Regions from separate parts of the Homo sapiens genome. Here all the other regions are linked to region 1. The links are contacts of gene promoters, found by promoter capture Hi-C in human tissues and cell types (Jung and others, 2019). All regions are on one chromosome and are shown on one strand. The core of a region is centred on a gene start or on the middle of the fragment in contact, and the rest is flanking DNA. Distances in the headings are between cores, read along the strand shown.

Evidence for each region. The method cuts DNA at HindIII sites, captures the fragments that hold promoters and counts their contacts. A contact is called where the count stands out against the background at its distance.
Region 2: a contact is called between a fragment that was not itself captured here and the fragment with the promoter of GJB5 in region 1, in 2 of the 25 tissues and cell types used here (mesendoderm cells and thymus).
Region 3: a contact is called between a fragment that was not itself captured here and the fragment with the promoter of GJB5 in region 1, in 2 of the 25 tissues and cell types used here (IMR-90 fibroblasts and lymphoblastoid cells).

What each region holds. Positions count from the first base shown.
Region 1 is chr1:34,753,584-34,756,341 of GRCh38, forward strand. GJB5 (gap junction protein beta 5) reads left to right here and starts at 1,464. Exons shown (of 2, transcript NM_005268.4): 1 at 1,464-1,612. The HindIII fragment of the contact is 2,696 bases long and covers 333-2,758 here.
Region 2 is chr1:34,467,727-34,470,426 of GRCh38, forward strand. It overlaps LOC105378641 (a long non-coding RNA gene), which reads right to left. Exons shown (of 9, transcript XR_001737964.2): 6 at 2,055-2,260. Among named protein-coding and RNA genes, the nearest start is that of MIR552, 200 kb to the right of the region's middle. The HindIII fragment of the contact is 3,632 bases long and covers 1-2,700 here.
Region 3 is chr1:34,443,037-34,445,736 of GRCh38, forward strand. No RefSeq gene overlaps it. Among named protein-coding and RNA genes, the nearest start is that of MIR552, 230 kb to the right of the region's middle. The HindIII fragment of the contact is 4,526 bases long and covers 1-2,700 here.

The sequences.
Region 1 (2,758 bases), core at 214-2,713:
CCTCAGCACAATACAAAATGTAAAAATAGAAAAAAGAAAAGAATTCCCTCATGCCTCCCTCTGCACCCAAGATAAATTCAAACTCCTTAGCATGACATTCCAGGTCCTTCATGGTCTGGAAGGTCTTTGCTGACCTTCCAGGCTCCTTGCCATGTGGTGTCCCCACCACTACCCAGCCCACTCTCCAATGCTCTTCCATTATTTTTCACAAAGGTCCTCTGCACGCTATGTGCCCACTGCCTCAAAGGCCCCTCCTCAGCATCTCTTCTTGGTAAACTCCTATACATCCTTCAAGACCCAGCTTAAATGTTACCTTCTCCGGCTCTCCCTCTGGCAGAACTTAAAACTCCCTTCTCTCTCTGTGTCTTTTCTAGGACTTCTCACAATGTTGTAACTGATCTCTTTATATGCCTCCTCTCTCCTGTACTTGGCAACAGCTTTTTGGAAAGAGCATGGAGTATAGAAATGTGTGACTCTCTGCAGGGTGTGTGCATTTCACACATCATTCATTCAATAAATATAAATTGAAGCCTAACTGGACAAGACACCAGGCACCATACTAGGCACAAGGGATAGAGCAGTGAATAAAATAAAGCCACTGCTGCATGTGTGTGCAACACTGTGCCCATAATTGTGGCCTGTGTGTAAGAGTATGCTCATGTGAAGCTACATTGTGTTTGCTTGTGGACATGAGGTGTTTGTGGCTCCTGGATGCTTTGTCTGTTGAATCCTGACCCCAAGTGACCTGCTGATACAGGGCACCTTGGAAGTCAATTAGGCCAAAAGACCGTGTCTGTGCACTAATGAGAAGCTTTCCCCAGGTGCCCCTGCCCACCTTCTCCACCTCTCCTGTGGTTCCTGCCTGGCTTGGGTTTGGCCTTTTTAACCCAAAGACAACATGCATCCAAATGAGATTTTCTCTAGTGCATACGTCTCTCTCTCCCTCCCTTCTCCTCTGCCTTCCCTGTATCTCAGAAAGAAAAGGCCTAGGAATAAGGAAAAGGAGGAGGAAGAAACATTTTTTTGAGGACATACCATGCGGCAGGCCTGTGCTGGGCAGTATACACGCATTATAGGCAATTGTAGACAGGGCTTCCCTTGTGTCAGGCACTGTTCTAAGCACTTCACCCCTAAGGCTGGGTTAATCCACGTATCCACCCTATGAGGTAGGTGTTGTTCTTTTCCCACTTTCACAGAGAAGGCAAGAAATCACACAGTGAGAAAGTGGCAGAGCTGGGATTCAGGCCTCAGCTTCTCCCACACAAGCCCACAGATGGGAGGATGAACAAGGAGTCAGAGTGGACCTGTGGCTCTCCCCTGAGAGGATACCAGGATTCGAGGCTCAGCGCCCTGGGAGGAGTGAACCCCTCAGTTTCCTGAGCCTCATCAGAAGCAGTCTGGGGAGGCTGGGGCCCAGCCAATGGCAGTGCAGGTCCCAGCTCCTCCTCCTCCCAGGCTGGGCCAGCACACCCGGCAGGCTCTGTCCTGGAAACAGGCTTCAACGGGCTTCCCCGAAAACCTTCCCCGCTTCTGGATATGAAATTCAAGCTGCTTGCTGAGTCCTATTGCCGGCTGCTGGGAGCCAGGAGAGCCCTGAGGAGTAGTCACTCAGGTAAGGGCATCTGTGTCCGCATGTGCCCTGCCCCTTGGCATACGTGGCAGGAGGACACTTCTCTGCTGGGGAGTGGTGGGATGTGGCCTGGACACATCTGCCACCCTGGGTCCTGATGGTGGAGGAATAAGGGGCTCTGGGTTCTTTCAGGTCTCCCCAGCCGGGCAAAGGTAGGAGCAGGGGCCAGGCCGGAAGCTCAGCAGGCAGGGTAGCTCTGCCTGGGCCTGCAAAGCCCTGCCCCACTCCTCCCCAAGTAGGGATGGGCTGGGTGAGAGCCCCTGGGGCTAAGGGCGGGGCCTTCCTGGGTGTTCCCTGAGAAGCTGCAGGAGTCCTACCTTAGACAGGACTGAGCATGCAAGATGGTGATTCAAAACAGAGCTCCCCCCAACCCCGGCCCCCACCTCCACCCATCCCCCGTCCAAGTGGCGCAGGTGGTGTGGAGACAGGGTGGTGGGCAAAGGTTCCCCCAGCCACCCTCATCCAGGATCCACACACAAGGGGAAGGACAGAATCCGTCTGCACACAAACAGGCAGGCAGCTCATTGAAACTTGAGGAAAGGGTCTGAGGCCTAAGGCTGGGCAGTTCCCGGAGGGTGGGCTCTAGAGCCAGCCTGCCTGGGTTCAAATCCTAGCTCTGCCACTTATTAGCTGTGTGACGTTGAGCAAGTTAATTAATCCCTCTGTGTTCCTCTTTCCTCATCTGTAAATTGGGAATAAAAAATATGCCCTTTCCTAAGGTTGCTGTGAAGGAATAATGTACTGATTCATACAAAGAACTTAGAGCGGTGCCTGGCACGGCATGAATGCTTCATGGATATTGGCTGTTATCACTACTCTGCTTTGCAGTTGATCATGCAGAGGCTCCAGAGAGCCTGGTGAGCTTCAGCCTGGACCAGCATGGGAAGGCCATCATGAGCCCTTTAGTGGCTAGGCAGACAGGTTCCTTGGGGTCCCAGGGTGCACAGTTGGTTGAAACCACAGTGCATGGGTCTTAATGGACACACCCCCATCTCCAGGAATCAGGCAGAGGACTCGCGGGTGAGGAAGTGGGGACCCCTTACTCTGCCTAGCAGTCACAGTCCTTACGCGGAGGTGAATCTGATTCTGTGAGTTCATCAGGCCAAATTCACCAGCAGAACTGACAGG
Region 2 (2,700 bases), core at 167-2,666, 290 kb before region 1:
ATGCATGTCCAGCTAAAAGGGACAGCAGATCACCAACTGCAGCTGATGCTGCCATATAGAAATATGAACCCAGCGTTTCCTGCTCCTCTGATTTTTTTAAAGAAGCTGGAAATTCAGATATTAATATGAAACCTTCTAAATTTTTAGGGTTGGCAGCTAATTAAAAAGTTTTGAGAGCAACATGAAGGCAAAGAAAAAGTGTCCACGGGCCTGATAGAACAACTCTGTATTTTGAAAATTTGATCTCGGAAATTCCCAACCTCTCTTTACTTCCTCAACGTCCAGTCAGTCTTGTCAAATTCTGCATTGTTCATTCAGAGGCATTGACAAAGTACCTACCATGAATCAGAAACAAAAATCAGGCACTAACTAGCTCTCTGCTTCTGGTGCACAGAGTAGCAGGCAGACAAGTAAAGAAACAGTTACAAAACAGTGTGATGAAAGCGACACTATAAAAAACACAGGTGCTGTTGGAGCCCAAAGGAGAGGAACCCACGCCAGCCTAGGAAATCAGGGAAGGCTTCCTGGTGTAGATGACAAGACACGAGATGTAACAGATGAATAGAATGTGACTTAGGCAGGTGCAGCAGATGGAGAGGAGTTGTTCCTAATTGGCTTCTTCTTCCTTCCCACTTTCTCAACCTTAATTCAGACCCTCATCACATGGCACCAGTTATCAAAACACCCTTTTCATTGGTTTCCTTGATTCCAATCATTCTCCACACTGTTGCAAAACTCACCTCTCTAAGACAAAAGTATGTCCTCTCACTCCCATATGTTAATTTCCTTTAGGGTGACCCCATTGAGGACAGGAGAAGTTTCCCAGTTTCATGATCAACATCTCATCCATCAAAACTTTTTGATAATGCAACTTCAACATAAACATGTCTGCTTATTTGTTTATTTATAAATTAGATATCTGTAATGTGCTAAGTGTCATGGAAATTTTGCACAAAAAATAGAAAATTTTAAGGTTGAAGATACATACGGTTGAAAATTATAAAACATTTATATTTATATATATATATATAATTTTCAACCATTAAATAAAATAATGAGAGCTATGTACTTGCTCATCATAAATGCTTTGATACTTTTAAAAATCTTAGCTTAACACTTTTTGATATAATCATTTGAAGGTCAAGTTGAAAGTATGTTTATTTAGTACATGGTTTTCATGACTTAGGCTGAAAGGCATGCAAAAGACATGGAGATCACAGTGGGAGACATACTTACTGGCTGCACTTTGTACATGTTAGACCCATTTTCAATCCCACCTACCAATTATACAGACAATGTGAACATTTGCTTACTAGATCTCTGTATTCCACGTATCAATTGTTCATTTCTGCAAATGAATTGGAAGATGCAGCATTTCTACATTTTGAACAAATGTGTACAAAGTCCTCCAGGTTTTTTTATGTAGGAGATTTTTTAACACTTTAGGAAATTTTGTTTCCAAGTTTTTATAGAACACAGATATAACAATTTTTATAAGTGACACCCTGACAAAATTTTAGGCAATAGGATCATGTAATGGTGGAAACACTTCAAACATCCATTTTAAAATGTTCTTCCTTTTGTGCACACAAACCTGTTTCAAAAAACAGTTCCTTTCTCACTCATTGTTAAAAAAATATCGCCTTTACCTTGAAAGGGCAGATTACAGATGTTTACTTTTTCAAAAATATCTAATAGCAACAGCTACCTGTCATCATTGGAAAGGTCAGCAAATTTGGAAAACTTGTCTTTTTGTAAAAGAAAATTATATCTCTCATCTTTAAGTTCAATGAATTAGCCAGAAGCCCTCTGGATAGCACAAGATCAAGCACATAAGCTTGGTGATCAAGATCTTTCTTGCCTTCCAAATCATCTTTTGCTGAATGTATCCAGAACCCATTTTTATTTGCTTAAATGAATGAAGCAAACTTCACCAATCCACTGAGCTCCTGGAGCATTTCTTCCCACACCTCTATCAGAGTATTTGTCAGCTTGCACTGTGATCTTTTGTTTGTTTGCAGGTACGAGTCCCCTAGGCAGGTGTGGGTGCATACCTTGAATGTCCAGCCTTCTTCCACATCTCTCAGCTTCCAGTGCCCAGCACTGTGACCCAGAGCAGGTGCCAGGAAACACTTGCTGAGTACATATACAGATGAATGAGTTTCCCCAGGATGAGACAGACACATTCGGGTGCCTTCTTTGGTAGTGATCCATTCTCTATATGCTGATGTTCATAGCCAGAGCCATGAAAGTAGTATTTCTGAAAAGAAAATCCAGGTTGGGATTCTTAAAATCATTTCTAAAAAGACCTTTACTTGGTGAAAGCATAATCCATTAATAATGTGTTTTACACTAAAGAGATAATGGGAACCTCCCACAGGGGGATTAAAGCATGACTAGAATTTAGGGTCAATACTCCTCCAAAATTGCTTCATCCCTCTGAGATGCAAACAGCAGGAAACACACCAGCCCTCCCCGGGCTGTCAGGAGGAGCACCAGACAGAGGGGAGGACTTAAGCCAGAGAAGAGGTAACATCCAGGAAAGTCCACTAACCATCTTCTTTATGATGGCCCCGCAGGACACTCCAGCTGGTCTCCCTTTGCTCTGACCAGCAACCAGGAATTTTCCAGTCTCTGGCCATGGACAGTGATACCTTTATTGGTAAAAGCAGGGGTTGTGGGGGTGGGGGTGGGGAAGGA
Region 3 (2,700 bases), core at 69-2,568, 310 kb before region 1:
TCAGCTCTACCCCATACCAAGGTCTTAGACCTGGTGTTCTGCCTCATTCACCCCTCAGGCAGCACCTGGGCAATACCCTCTCTGGATGGGAAGCACTGTGCCCATCTGACTTGAGGGGCTGCAGTCACACACAACCCCCAGCCCCTCCTAGCATGGGTTCTCTGGGAAATAACACCTTTAACACTGGCTCAGTCATACAGAGGTGCCCACAGAGATTCTGATGTTCACCACCAATTTCTGGATCGGCACCTCCACCCTTGTTCTCATCCTTCTTGGTACCTCAATTACTTCTATTTCCCCATGGTTGAGCTCCCACCATGTCTATCCCAGAACCTAACTTCCATGCACTTCCCCTCCCTGCAACATCTTGATTGTGACACCTGTAGCTGTGTCTCCTCCTTCTCTTCAGGGGGCTTTTCTCATGACAGTGTCTGTACCCAAGGACACTCCATGAAGTAGTCTCAATTTTGACTCCATGATTTCTTAGCCCAATCTTGCAGAGGCTGCCCAATTTCTTTGCCATCTTCATCATGGCCAATACTGAGTTGTGGTTGCAAGGCGTATAGCCTTATGGTGAAGGACATGAGATCCAGAGACAGACAGACCCGAGTTTGATTTTCTGCTCTTCCACTAGCTAGCACTGTTGACCTGAAGCAGCCACTTGGCCCCTCTGAACCACAGTTTCTTCATGTGTACATGGAAATCATAATAGTGCCTAATTCACAGGATGGATGAGGAGTCAATGAGCCAAGGTATGTATGTGTTTGGTTTCCTATTGCTGCTGTTGCTAATTGCCCCAAACTTAGTAGCTTAAAGCAACAGAAATTTATTCCCTTGCAGTCTTGGAGGCCAGAAGTCTGAAATGAGTCTTGCAGGGCTAAGATCAAGGTGTCAGCAGGCTGGTTCCTTCTGGAAGCTTCAGGGAAGAATCCACTCCTTTCCTCTTCCAGTTACTGGTGGCTGTGGCATTCCTTGGCAGTTAGCTACATCCCTCCACTCTCTGCTTCCATTGTCATATTTCCTTTTCCCCTCTATGCTAAATCTCCCTCTGCCTTCCTCTAATATGGACACTTGTGATTTCTTTTAGGGCCCACCCAGATAATCTAGGATAATCTCCTCATTTCAAAATCCTTAACCTAATTGCATCTGCAAAGTCCCTTTTGCCACATAGGGTAACATTCACAGGTTCATATTTTAGGGGGAGTATTATTCAGCCCACTGCAGGTGCTAAGCAGAGTGCCTACCATATAGAAGCTCCATAAATTACTGCTACTATTCTTATTACAGTTATTATGATTACAATGGTTAGCCCCTAATTCTGCACTAACATTATTCCTTTGATTGCCACACAGTCAACAAAGGGTTGGGTTTCTATAGGTCCAAAGAGCACAATTACGTGAGGCTCGAATAACTAACACTCAGACATTTAGCCATTTATACCATCTATAAAATTCTTCCTTCCCAATATGCACTCCTAGCAGGAGGTAGGAATTCTCAGTGGGGTGCAATAAAAGCCCCTCCAGGTGAACTTTTAACTAACAGCTTATCAGAGCAAGATGATGCTCTAATGAGTCCTCTGAACTCTCCAGATGCGTCCCTGCACACGGCTTCCTCTGGCCATTACATCTGCTATTCCTTTCAAGGATGTGGCTGGGCTCTGCTCTCTTCCCAGCTGGCAAGAGCTGAGCAAAGCCCCTGAGGCTCTTACTCCAGGGGACAGATATGCATCAACAGTCACTACCCTCACATCTGTCCACAGCTGTCCAGAGAGAAATTCCACAGGATTATTGGATGGAACTTTGCCCCAGCCCCTCTTAGAGCTCCCACAGCTGGTTGTCTCCTCTGAGCACTGAACACTGATGGGAGGAAGTTCCAGTGGCAATGACTGTGCTAAGTCGCAGCATAGGTGGGTCAGGCACTGGCCCAGAAGTGGCCAATTCTGAACCAGGTTGAGTTTATGATTCCAGAAAGTCATGGAGCTACCAAGGCCAAGGAGATGAGCCACCAGAGATAGAGACCAAAGGGTGCACCAGTCAAGTCCAAGAGCCAGGAATCTGCCCCTGAAGAAAGAGCCAAGACAGAAAGAGACTGGGGTGAGACCTGGGCGAGGGAGTCTGTGAACATCTGACTAATTCTGAATCTTTCTTACTGCACCCTCTTCTGAAGAGTCAGCTCCTACCCAGAAGAGTTTAAAGACCATGAATACTTTAGACTCGGCTTGCACAAGCATGCGGAGTCTCTAAATGCCCAGGACTCTTCTCATTAGGAAGCCTATGTCCGGGTGGCTCCCTGAGGCTGGAGGAGACCAGTGGTTAAATGTGCCAAGGCAAATACCCTCTCTCTGCCACCACCCATGTTGCCCTCAGGGACACATTCTTGGCGGTCTCTCTCCTGAGTTAATACCCTCTTAAACCTCACAGGGTCTCTTCTCTGTGCAAAGCCCCTTTTGTCCATCGGATGCTCTCAAAGCTAACATGGGGTCCCCATGACACCAATCAGCTCCTAGAGTCTGAGATCTAGGACTGCCTGGGCTGCATTCCCAATCACCTAGCTCAGGCCCAGGGGCATCAACTCTGCTGAGCTCTCTGCTGAGGACTTTGAAGGAAACTTCAAGCTGAAACAATCATGGCAGCTTCAACTGGGTCTGCCTCACAGTCCACCTTTTGTTTTGTCCCTTGCCCCTGCTCACACTGCGTAGGG